Regions from separate parts of the Homo sapiens genome. Here all the other regions are linked to region 1. Evidence: promoter capture Hi-C in 16 types of primary human blood cells and fetal thymus (Javierre and others, 2016). All regions are on one chromosome and are shown on one strand. Each heading gives the region's core, a stretch centred on a gene start or on the middle of the fragment in contact. The rest is flanking DNA. Distances are from core to core; before and after follow the strand shown.

The links. The method cuts DNA at HindIII sites, captures the fragments that hold promoters and counts their contacts. A CHiCAGO score of 5 or more calls a contact.
Region 2: a contact is called between the fragment with the promoter of NCOA2 here and the fragment with the promoter of ASPH in region 1, in 3 of 17 cell types (activated CD4 T cells, non-activated CD4 T cells and fetal thymus). The highest score is 9.6, in activated CD4 T cells.
Region 3: the fragment with the promoter of TMEM68 here is called in contact with the fragment with the promoter of ASPH in region 1 in 1 of 17 cell types (total CD4 T cells); the score reaches 12.8 in total CD4 T cells.
Region 4: a contact is called between the fragment with the promoter of RPS20 here and the fragment with the promoter of ASPH in region 1, in 3 of 17 cell types (naive CD8 T cells, naive CD4 T cells and activated CD4 T cells). The highest score is 7.1, in naive CD8 T cells.

What each region holds. Positions count from the first base shown.
Region 1 is chr8:61,713,325-61,715,868 of GRCh38, reverse strand. ASPH (aspartate beta-hydroxylase) reads left to right here and starts at 1,277. Exons shown (of 25, transcript NM_004318.4): 1 at 1,277-1,600. The coding sequence starts at 1,498. MIR4470 (microRNA 4470) reads right to left here and starts at 1,081; the gene lies at 1,010-1,081. RefSeq lists silencers at 1,068-1,437, 1,478-1,907. The HindIII fragment of the contact is 6,840 bases long and covers 1-2,544 here.
Region 2 is chr8:70,402,545-70,405,088 of GRCh38, reverse strand. It overlaps NCOA2 (nuclear receptor coactivator 2), which reads left to right and starts at 1,281. Exons shown (of 23, transcript NM_006540.4): 1 at 1,281-1,389. RefSeq lists silencers at 505-664, 1,355-1,664, 1,705-1,994, 2,025-2,544 and an enhancer at 765-884. The HindIII fragment of the contact is 4,231 bases long and covers 1-2,544 here.
Region 3 is chr8:55,772,112-55,774,655 of GRCh38, reverse strand. It overlaps TMEM68 (transmembrane protein 68), which reads left to right and starts at 1,278. Exons shown (of 8, transcript NM_001286657.2): 1 at 1,278-1,387. It overlaps TGS1 (trimethylguanosine synthase 1), which reads right to left and starts at 1,210. Exons shown (of 13, transcript NM_024831.8): 1 at 937-1,210. The coding sequence starts at 1,037. RefSeq lists enhancers at 772-1,101, 1,873-2,376 and silencers at 1,242-1,431, 1,522-1,651. The HindIII fragment of the contact is 10,724 bases long and covers 1-2,544 here.
Region 4 is chr8:56,073,226-56,075,769 of GRCh38, reverse strand. It overlaps RPS20 (ribosomal protein S20), which reads left to right and starts at 1,264. Exons shown (of 4, transcript NM_001023.4): 1 at 1,264-1,389; 2 at 1,611-1,710; 3 at 2,002-2,075; 4 at 2,498-2,544. The coding sequence starts at 1,387. SNORD54 (small nucleolar RNA, C/D box 54) reads left to right here and starts at 1,869; the gene lies at 1,869-1,931. CERNA3 (competing endogenous lncRNA 3 for miR-645) reads right to left here and starts at 1,178. Exons shown (of 2, transcript NR_149110.1): 1 at 890-1,178; 2 at 496-763. The HindIII fragment of the contact is 15,741 bases long and covers 1-1,536 here.

The DNA.
Region 1 (2,544 bases), core at 28-2,527:
AGGATATATGGATGCAGAAGGAGATGCCACAAGATAAAAGCTGAGAGAGCTACTTCAATAAAAACTCTGTGAACTCTCCCCTCCCACCGTCTCTTGATAATAGCCTAACACTATTTGACAAAAGGTAAAGAAAGGCATTCTCTTTATTCTGCAACATGACCTTTGGGGGGTTTCTGTGCATCATCAGGGCAGGGTCAAGCAGCATCCAACCATCCACAGGTGAAAAGGCATGGGGCCGGGGGGAGGCGGGAGTGCTTCTGAAGGCGCGGGTGGGTGGGTTTGTGGGGCTGGAAAAGAGGAATGAAACCAGATGCCACAATGCAACTGCTCTCTCTGGTCCCTGAGCCCTCCTGAGACACTCCCAGGGGTTGCTACGAAACATGATCAAGAGCTGTGGGTTCAGCAATTGACAGAAATGTATCAAATCACTAAGCATTTCTTGCTTGCCTGTTACACATTGGGCATGGTGTTAGCAATGGTGACACAAAGATGATAAAGACGTCGCTGATCTCAAGTCCTTGTCTGGTTCAACCACGTGCCAAGACATTTTAATACTCTGTTGGGAATTCTCAGGCAGCACAGGCCCAGGCGTTAGCAAAGCAGCCAGGGATTTCAGACAGAGGGTGCCATCCAGGGTAAGAAAATGAACTTTTTGTGTCACATTTGCATTTTCATTCCTTAACTAAGAGTATCTGAAAATACTGATGGCACAAACGAACTAAATTCCTGCTTCAGCACCAAATGGATGAACTACTACGGTTTAAGCATTGAACTAGTCCTAATATCACCATTCCAGAAATGTCTTAGTATTAATCAGGACAAGAAATAGGGATCTCTTTCGCAAGAAGCGAGACTGCACTCCTTCCTTTCCTTGTATACGGAAAGGGGACAAAATCCACAGTGAAAGGCCTAGAAGCGGCGCACTCCGCCCACGGGCGGCCCACGTGTCCACCTATTCCGCACCGCGCCCTGTCCCATCCCTATGGAGCGGGGTCTGCCAACGCTCGCGAGAGCCCTCTCGGCTTCCACGTTTGCCACGTTCCAAAGGACCGAGACAAACTGGAAAGCCGAAAGAGGCTCGCGCTCACAGGCAGCTGCGTAGCGCCCGAACAGCCCTAAGTGAGCAGGGGCGGGGAGCGCGGCAGGGTACCGCCGCCTCGTAAGGGCCCTTGCGATTGGGTCCCAGGCGCCGTCACTCAGCCTTCCGGGGGCGGGGCGAGGCCGGGAAGGGGCGTGGCCGTCGGGCGGCGAGCCGCGCGCTCTCGCCCCGGGAGGGAGTCACAGGTTCGTACACGCGAGGCCGGGCGCGCGCAGCCGGCAGGCGGGTGAAGTCTTCCCAGGTGCTGCAGGCGGTGCTGAGGCACAGGGTCTGCTGCAGGAGCAGCGGCCCGAACCCGCTCCAGCGGCCCGCCGCCGCCAGCGGTTCCCGCGTCGCGTGTGTACCCCCGCGCACTGAAGGAGGTCCGCCAGCCCTCACCAGCCCCCGCGGACCGTGCAATGGCCCAGCGTAAGAATGCCAAGAGCAGCGGCAACAGCAGCAGCAGCGGCTCCGGCAGCGGTAGCACGAGTGCGGGCAGCAGCAGCCCCGGGGCCCGGAGAGGTCAGAGGCCCTGCGGGGCGGGGATCTGGGGCCTCGCCTCGGGGTAGGGAGCCGGCTGGCGCGGCGGACGCTGCGGGTGCATCTCCCCAGGTCCCACCGCGCGCCGCCTCCATCCCCCGCGACGCTCCTCCTTTAGGCGCGCGGGGCGGAGGCCGCATTCGGCGGGCCTGGCGGGCGGGCGAGGGGCCAGGCGGACCGGGGTCCGAGCCCTCGGGATGCTAGTCTCGGGGAGCCCCTTCCCAGCGGTTCCTTCACCTGCAGGGCGCAGCCGAGACAGAGGTTGCTGAACGACTGTTTCTTGGCTTTCCGTGGAATTGAACATGGGAGTAAGAGAACAATTTATCGTTTGCCTTGCGTGTTTTGGGGAGTTGAAAATGAGCCAAAGTCAGGGAAAGTGAGTTCCTGCCTAACCAGCAGCGTTTCAGAGCAACTCAAAGGAGGTGAAAATGGGGGCGCCGGGGGGCAGGGGGAGGGAAGAAGTTGGGAGTGATTTGAATGCTCTCAGAAATTATTTTAAATATTTTTGCTTGTATGTAGCTTTCTTAATATGCGTTGCAGTTGCCTTTAAAATAGAATGTCATGAAATACTGAACGAGCGTCTGTATTTTTACCACTTTTACTTAAAATAAAAATCGATTGGATATTCACCTTTCTCCTCGTCCGTGTGCATATCCAGCAGAGAGAACAGATTTTTAAATCTGTTTCGTCTCATATTTCAGTGATTCTTGGTTTCTTTTATACTTCCTTTGACTCATATTTGGGATATTGAAACTGCAATACACATGTGTATGGAATGTGAGCTGTAAACTTCACTTGAAGTGATTTAGACTCTTTGTTTTCTGAGATCTTCAGATCATGCATTCATAATATACCAAGAAAATGAATCAGCTATAGTCAAAGAAGTATTTTCTTTATAGCACTTGTCACTATCTGAACTTGTCTTA
Region 2 (2,544 bases), core at 32-2,531, 8.7 Mb before region 1:
GTGAAGTGAAAAGCGGCAATGACTTCGGAAGGTTTGAGGATTAAGGCCTATAGCATATATACATCACCTAGCACAGTCAGATTCACAGTAAGTGTTCAATAAACACTCTTATTGTCTACCGCAAGTGACCTTTCTCATTATAAGATTAAAATCAGGGAATATGTTCCTCTCATAGTTTGATAACTGCCATTAAACAAAAGTTTTTTTTTTCAACTAATTACCGTATAAGTTGGAAAAAAAACTTGCTTTTCCAAAGCGTAAAACAGATTGGTCTAAGTAACACTTAAATGGGGGTTCTCGCATTTTCAGTGCCAATCTCCTACGTCCCCTCAGTACTTTGTTCACGGATGTCTAGAGAATGGACTTTCCAATACAAACTTATGATTTCATGATGTGCCGAAAATTCTCAACCAGGTTAAGTTTCACACTCTGTGTGCAGCATTTGCTTTATCCCGCAATTGCCGGGTGGTGCCCCTTCCAGCTCCCACAGTCGCGCCTCTCCATCCCCTCTGGAGCTAGGACTGCAATGGGAGAAGCCTCTCCCTGTTGGAGCCGTAGGGGACTTGACGGATGCGGGGCGCCTCCGGGGAGCAGCGGCAGGACCGGGAGTTGGGTAGGGTGAGGTGCGCCCGAGGGGGTGCAGGGTGCTGGCCGAAGGGTCCGGCCGGACGGGCGCGAGGGTCCTCTGCTGGCGACCCTGGAACTCGGCTCTCCCCGATCTTCGTCCTGGGGCACCGTCCCTGCCGTCTGCAGCCCCCAGGCCCCACTGCCTCTAACTCAGCGGCCCAGGCCCGTCCCAGTCGCTAGTTTTCTTTTTGGCATTGCCCTTTGCCCTCCCATGCAGTCCTCTGTTGACTCTCTCTTCAGTTCCAGTCACCTCTAGGTCACCCTCCCTCTACCACAGTCACCCATTTTGTCCCCTGTCCCCTTACTCTTCTTCACCTCTCCCCGGGCCGCCTTCTCAGAGGACTCTGCCGACGGAGATGCTGCGGACCCCGCGGCCAGGGGCTGCTCCCCGGACAACCCTGCGTCCACCTTTGCCCCTTCCTCGGGGGCGCGAGAGGCAAGTTTCCGCCCCGTCCTTTTCCCGGTGACAGGACTTGGCGGCGGCCACTGCCGGGGAGGCAGAGGGAGGGACGGCCTGGCTCCCGAGCCCCCTCCCCTGCTCGCGAGCTCGCGCTGTCTGTCTCTCCGCAAGTGCGGAGACGCGGAGGAGGAGGAGGAGGAGGAGGAGGAGGAGGGAGTTGGGGGAGGATCTCCATTGAAATAAACAACCAGGCAGCAGTTATTAACACGGGAACATGGCGGCCGCAGCCTCGGCTACAGCTTCGGCGGCGAAGGTCAGCGCCGACGGCAGCCGGCACCTGACGGCGTGACCGACCCGAGCCGGTAACCGCGCCTTCCCCCGGGGCCGCGAGGGCGGGCGGGGGGCGGGCGGCAGGCGGGGGGCGCCGCGTCCCCACCCCCGGCCGCGACTGCCCTTCCTGCGCCGAGCTCCGACAGAGCCGTGCGCCTCCGAGAGGCTGTTTTTGTGTGCGGGGACCGCCGCCGGAGTGCGCGGAAAACGGGAGTTGCATCCCGGAGGCGCAGCGACGCTGGGGAGTTGGGGCTTGGGGGTGGGGAGGGCGGGAAGCGACGGGGAGACGCGGAGTCCCCGGGAGAGAAAGGAGGCGCTCCAGCGCCTTGCGAGAGCTCAGGAGACGAGTCCCGGAGCGCGAGGCGGGCGGAGGCTGCAGCCCGCGGCGCGGGCGAGAGGTGAGCGCCGAGGCGCGGCCGGGGGTGCGGGCGCGGCCCCCGCCCCGAGGAGCGAGTGCCCATTGCCCAGCCCGGTGCGGGGTCGGCGGAGACCGAGGCTCTAACCCCTCGGGGGCAGCGCGGCAGAGCCGAGAAGGTGAATCCTGGGAAGGTGCATTCTTTAATGGAAGCGCGGAGCGGCTGCAGCGGAGAGTGGGAGCCGGGCGAGGGGAGGCAGGACTCGGGAAGTGCTGGGGGTGTGTGAAGGTGAAGCGGGGTGTCGGGGCGGCCGGCGAGCTGCAGCGCGGGGCGGGGAAGGGGAGCCGCGGCCCGGCGGGTGGCCCGGGCCCGTGTCAGCCCCGGGGGTGGGGGGCGAGGGGCGCCGAGCACCGCGGGCGGACGGGAAGGAGCTGCGGCGGGCGGGGCGGGCGGCGCGCTGGGGCCGAGCAGGCCGGGCCGTGGTGGGGGCGGGGAGCCGGGGGCCGGGCCCCGGCGGCGCCGAGCCGGGCTCGCCCCTGACTGAACTTTCTGGGTGCGGGCGTGTATGCAGGAGGCGCGCTGGGGCCGGGGCCGGGGGCGGGAGGCGGACCGGGAGGTTCCGGGTTGGCTCGCCAGCGCCCCCTTTTCTCGCCCCCTTCTCTCCGCCCCTGAAGGGACAGGCCCTCGGGGCCCCAGGCGGGAAGCGGGAGGGGCCCTGTGGCCGCCTCGCGACGGTCACGCCCCGGGCACGGGGACCCGGCCCTCTCGGGCCCCTGGGGGGTGCTGGGGGAGGGGGCCGGGGTCGTCGCTGCCGGCTGCGCTCCCCGCCTC
Region 3 (2,544 bases), core at 29-2,528, 5.9 Mb after region 1:
GTACCTCAGTGCCTACCAGCATACTTGATATACAAGAGCACAAAAAACATTTTCTGAATGATTGTATGACTACATGCATGCCTGACTAAAAAGGCGACAATACTTTTTACATTAAATTTAACAAGTTTAACTTCTTTTTGCGTTTTCAAATTACTCCACAAAATTACACGAGAAAAATGAATTCCTTCAAACTTAAATCCTACTATATTAAACTATATTAAAAGTCTATCACATAAAATTCACTTCCACAAGGATTTAACTCTAACAAAATAAGCATGTGAGATTAAATATACCCGTTATAGAGATGAAAAAAAGGTTCAAGTGGTTTAACTCACGCATTTAATATAAAGGAAACAATTCCTAGAATTCAAGTCTCTTGGCGGTATTATTCCTGCATACTAGCTATTTTTCATGTGGGGCAATTTTTACCTGATTCAAAGATTTCCCCAAAATAAAGATATCACAAAAACTGATGTAAATATGGTTAAGTCTTTTATCTCAACTAGTTTGAAGTTTTAATTATGTGCATTTGGGCTTAAGTAGATTTTTAGGTTTAAAAAAAGACGTTAACCAAAGCAAGTCACTCAACTTTAAACTTTCACTTTATGACATCATATCTACTAGAGATTTCATTTTACATGTCGCTTTCCCCCAATTTTTAAATGTCCCCTCGATTTACAAATATGAGATGACATATAGCACCTACGACATTTTTTCATAGCAGCCTACCAAGTAGATGTAGTCCTTCACATAAAAATAATGGCAGTGGGCGACCACTCCGTCATGTCTGAGGGTTTTGTTTTTCTTAAACATCACCGTGCCCAAGGGTCAGATGTTCTGGCTGCTTTCAGGGATCAATTACAACCACGTTTGCAATACCTACATTTCTGGGTAATGACTGTGCTAGAACATGAAGAGATTCTCTTTTCTACTTACTCCACAAATGCCCTGGAGCAAAGGCACAGTATCTTACAATCCTCCCGCTCCTCAATGAAGAGAAACATTTCCGCCACGCGGCTCCACTTCTCGCAGCACATTTTACCACTTCGGAGGCAGCTCTGACGTACGCAGCCCGGGTCGCGCCTGCCGGGCCTCCGCTCGGTTACTGGAGACTTAAAACAGGCCTCGCCCGCAAGCCCTGGATGAGGAGATAGAAACTGGCCCGCGGCCGCTCGCGCCGGGAACTAGCCCGGACGCTGCCGCCGGAAGTGGCTCCGAGGGGCCACGGGAAGGGGCGGGACCACGGGCGGTGTCACCCCCATCGCGGCCCGGGCTGCAGCCGCCGCTTGGCTTCTTTCACACGGGTTGCTTCGGAGGAATCCGCCGTGCAAATCTGTCCGCCCCCTTGGCCACTGATCCCCCGAAGAGCTTCTGTCGCCGCTCTAGGGTAAAGGAGAGCTGCCCCTGCCCCTGCCCCCGCCTATCCGAGGTGCGTCGGCCCCCGCGCTTCTCCAGCCCGGCATCGGGTCTGGCGGGACTGGGAGCGGCGGAGGCCGCGCGCGTCCGGTCTCCCAGGAGCCGCCTCGGAATCCCCAGTCTCTTCGCGGGCAGGCTCGGCTTCCCGCCGGCCTCAGTGTTGCGCCCCAGCGCCAGAGTGGCCGGGTGTGGAGATCCTCCCTCCTCTGGGTCAAAGAGCCTGCTCTCCCCGCCCCTCTTCTCCCCTGGCGCTCTAAACCTTCGGTTCGGCGCGTTTCATCCTAATGCATCTGGTGGGGCGAGGCGTCTCTAGCCTCTGTAGAGGCCTCTAGGCTTGCCCAGTGGCTTCGCTGGTTCCGGGACCCAGGTCGAGCCTCCGGTGTAAAAGCCAAGGGGAAGTGTGTGGTGATCCCGAGAGTGTAGGGGGAAAGCCGCGTGGGTAGAGCGTTCGTATCCAGACCGATCAGGCTTGGAATCCTGGTCCTACCTTGTGACCTGGGCAGGCAACTTCACCTTTCTGAGCTTACCTTTGATCACCTGTGAAATGGGGTTGATTAATAGTAACTACTACATGAGGCTGCAGGGAGGACTAAACGAAATGATGTATATTACACCTTTCCTTTGTGCGCTTAATCGTTGGCGTCGGTTTGGACCTTGTAGGCGTTAAGTGCTGTCTCGGTCCCTGGGGTTTGCAGCCTGTAAAACAGGTCTCTGCCTTCAAGTTACTAATTATCTAATAAGAAAAAAGTTCATGTGGGCATAAATAGGATGGAGAAAATGGAAACAGCAGCGTTGCTGGATCTGTTAAAAAGCAGTTAGTATTTGGTGTGTGGTATTCATGGAGGCTGCACGGGCAACTTCTTCAGAGACAAGCTCAGACTTGAAAGTTGGAGCGCTTCGGACGTGGTTGGTGCTACGAAATGCCAAAATAGTATTGGTACTTCTTCAGAACTATATAAAAACTGAGCTAAAATTCATGCATTTTGAATGGTATTTTCAATAGTATTTTGGCCACATTTACTAGTTAGTGGAAATATTCATTTTCAAATGTTTATTCCCACCTCCTTACTGCTGCCCTACTTTGAGGTCGGAGATAGGCTGATTTTGTTGGTTCAAGAAGGTAAGAGT
Region 4 (2,544 bases), core at 15-2,514, 5.6 Mb after region 1:
TTGAGACCAGCATGATCAACATGGAGAAACCCCGTCTCTACTAAAAAAAAAAAAAAAAAAAAAAAAATTAGCCGGGCATGGTGGCGCATGCCTGTAATCCCAGCTACTCCGGAGGCTGAGGCAGGAGAATCGCTTGAACCCAGGAGGCGGAGTTTGCGGTGAGCCGAGATCGCGCCATGGCACTCCAGCCTGGGCAACAAGAATGAAACTCCGTCTCACAAAAAAAAAAAAACAAAACAAACAAAAAAAAAAAACAACAAACAGGCCTGGACGGAGGGGTCAGAGCTCTGTCCCTCCCCATTTCAGAGTGTTTGAGCAAATAACTCTTTCGGCTCAGAGCTTCAGGTGGAAAGTAATATGAGATGATTTTACTCTTCTTTCTGCCCTGTATCAAAATCCATCTCAGTGATTTCCACGTATTTAGCCCCGGCTTCTTGCTCAGGTGTAGGTGAGCTCACCCTGCGCTCTCTCCCACTGCTCAGCTCAGTTGACCATTCGGGTTTTCCACTATACTTGGTCACTTATGTGATTATGAACAGATGTTCAGTATTAAGAAGACCCTGGGGGATCTTATCCAATGACTTTATCCAACAGAAAGGAGATGAGGTATCAGGACTGGGTGGCTAGCCAGGTTCCAGGCCGGGCCTCAGGATAGCTGCGCAGCCTGGCATTTTCGCCTCACTTTCCAGAAGGACGAGAAGCCAAGTTCAGGTCCTTTCCAGAAATAGATGTAGATACTTCTGCTGGACTGGGAAGCCAGGAGCTGAAATATCACAACAGGACGTTTCAGGCTATGAAAAATAACTGCTTACTAATTCTAACGTAAGTTATCCAGATTACGAGAAGCATTTCTGCCAATGCTCATGTCAGCTAAGCTCAGAGAAGTTACCTCATCCTCAGAGAGCAACGAATGGTATGGTCTATGTAGAAAGCAAAATTTGCAACGGAAAAACCAGAGTTCGTGTGCACTTTATGAGGAAGAGGGTTAGGTGCACCAGACAGAGGAGTTTCTCAGGTTTCCGTGTCGCCTGTTCTCTCGACCAGGTGGCCCTCTCGGCGCAGGCGGGGACCCCACCCTGCGGGACTTCGGCTCCTCCGTGCGGACAGGGGGCGCCCGCAGCCGTGCCTTTCCCGCCAACTCCACTAGTGCTCCAGCTCGCCCTTGTGCGACCGCCTCTAGGGCCCGGGATATTTCCTGTTCCGGGGCGTGTGGGACCCGGATGCAAGCGTGCTATATAAGCGTTGCTCAAGTCCCACCCCTTTCTTTTTGAGGAAGACGCGGTCGTAAGGGCTGAGGATTTTTGGTCCGCACGCTCCTGCTCCTGACTCACCGCTGTTCGCTCTCGCCGAGGAACAAGTCGGTCAGGAAGCCCGCGCGCAACAGCCATGGTGAGGCGGCAGTCGGCGGCGGGCGGCGCAACGCAGGGCTCGGGCGCCGGGGGGACCCCGGTTTCGAGTTCGTGCTCCTGAGGGCAGATGCCGGGGCGTGTAGGGGCGGAAAGGCGCTCCTGAAATGGTGGGGAAACGCGGGAAGCTTCCGGAAGCTGCCTTTCTCCAGAAGTGGCAGACCATTTTTGGCTTATTGTTCTTTTTCATGTATCTAATAATAGGCTTTTAAGGATACCGGAAAAACACCCGTGGAGCCGGAGGTGGCAATTCACCGAATTCGAATCACCCTAACAAGCCGCAACGTAAAATCCTTGGAAAAGGGTCAGTGCATTCGTTATGCGGGGGGGAGGGGGAATTGGGCGAAAAGCGACGAGCTTTACTCGTTAATGTTAGTGTAGAAGGTGGACTGCAAGAACTAAAGTGACAAGTTACTTAAAAAAGTAAAGCGTGGCTTAAAATTGCTTTTACTGTCATACAGCTGGCGATGAGGAGGTACCTATTGTGTTGAGTAACGGTGATAATTTTATACGCTATTCTGAGCCAGCAGAAGTGAAGGCCTTAAGCCGATTTTAATTGTTTCGATTATACTGAGAGGTCTTTTATTTCCTGTAGTGTGTGCTGACTTGATAAGAGGCGCAAAAGAAAAGAATCTCAAAGTGAAAGGACCAGTTCGAATGCCTACCAAGGTAAAGTAAATCGGAGGGGCAGGAAGTAGGAGTTGCTTCCGGATGTTGCATAAATTCAGGTTCTTTAAGGAGTTCGGCTGCCAAAATTGTTAACACTGATGCTGTCTACAAACGCACATAGAAATCGGTGGTAGATTGCGGTTCCTAGTAAGTAGCTAATGTTTAGATATGATTGTTGAATTATTGTTGCTGTGTTCTTGGTGTGCTTTGGTGCTTAACAGGCGCAAGCTCTAAGGGTGGTGTCCTAGCACAGTGAAAACAGACCTGGCATTTTCAACCCATGGTACCTGAAAATCTATTAGTGTAAATTGGAATCATACCAAAGGGAAACTAATGAAATGATTAGAAGTAATGATTTTCCAGATGTTCTAGGGATAAGTATAAAACGATAAACACTTGGTTTCCTTTGTCTTTTGTTACAGACTTTGAGAATCACTACAAGAAAAACTCCTTGTGGTGAAGGTTCTAA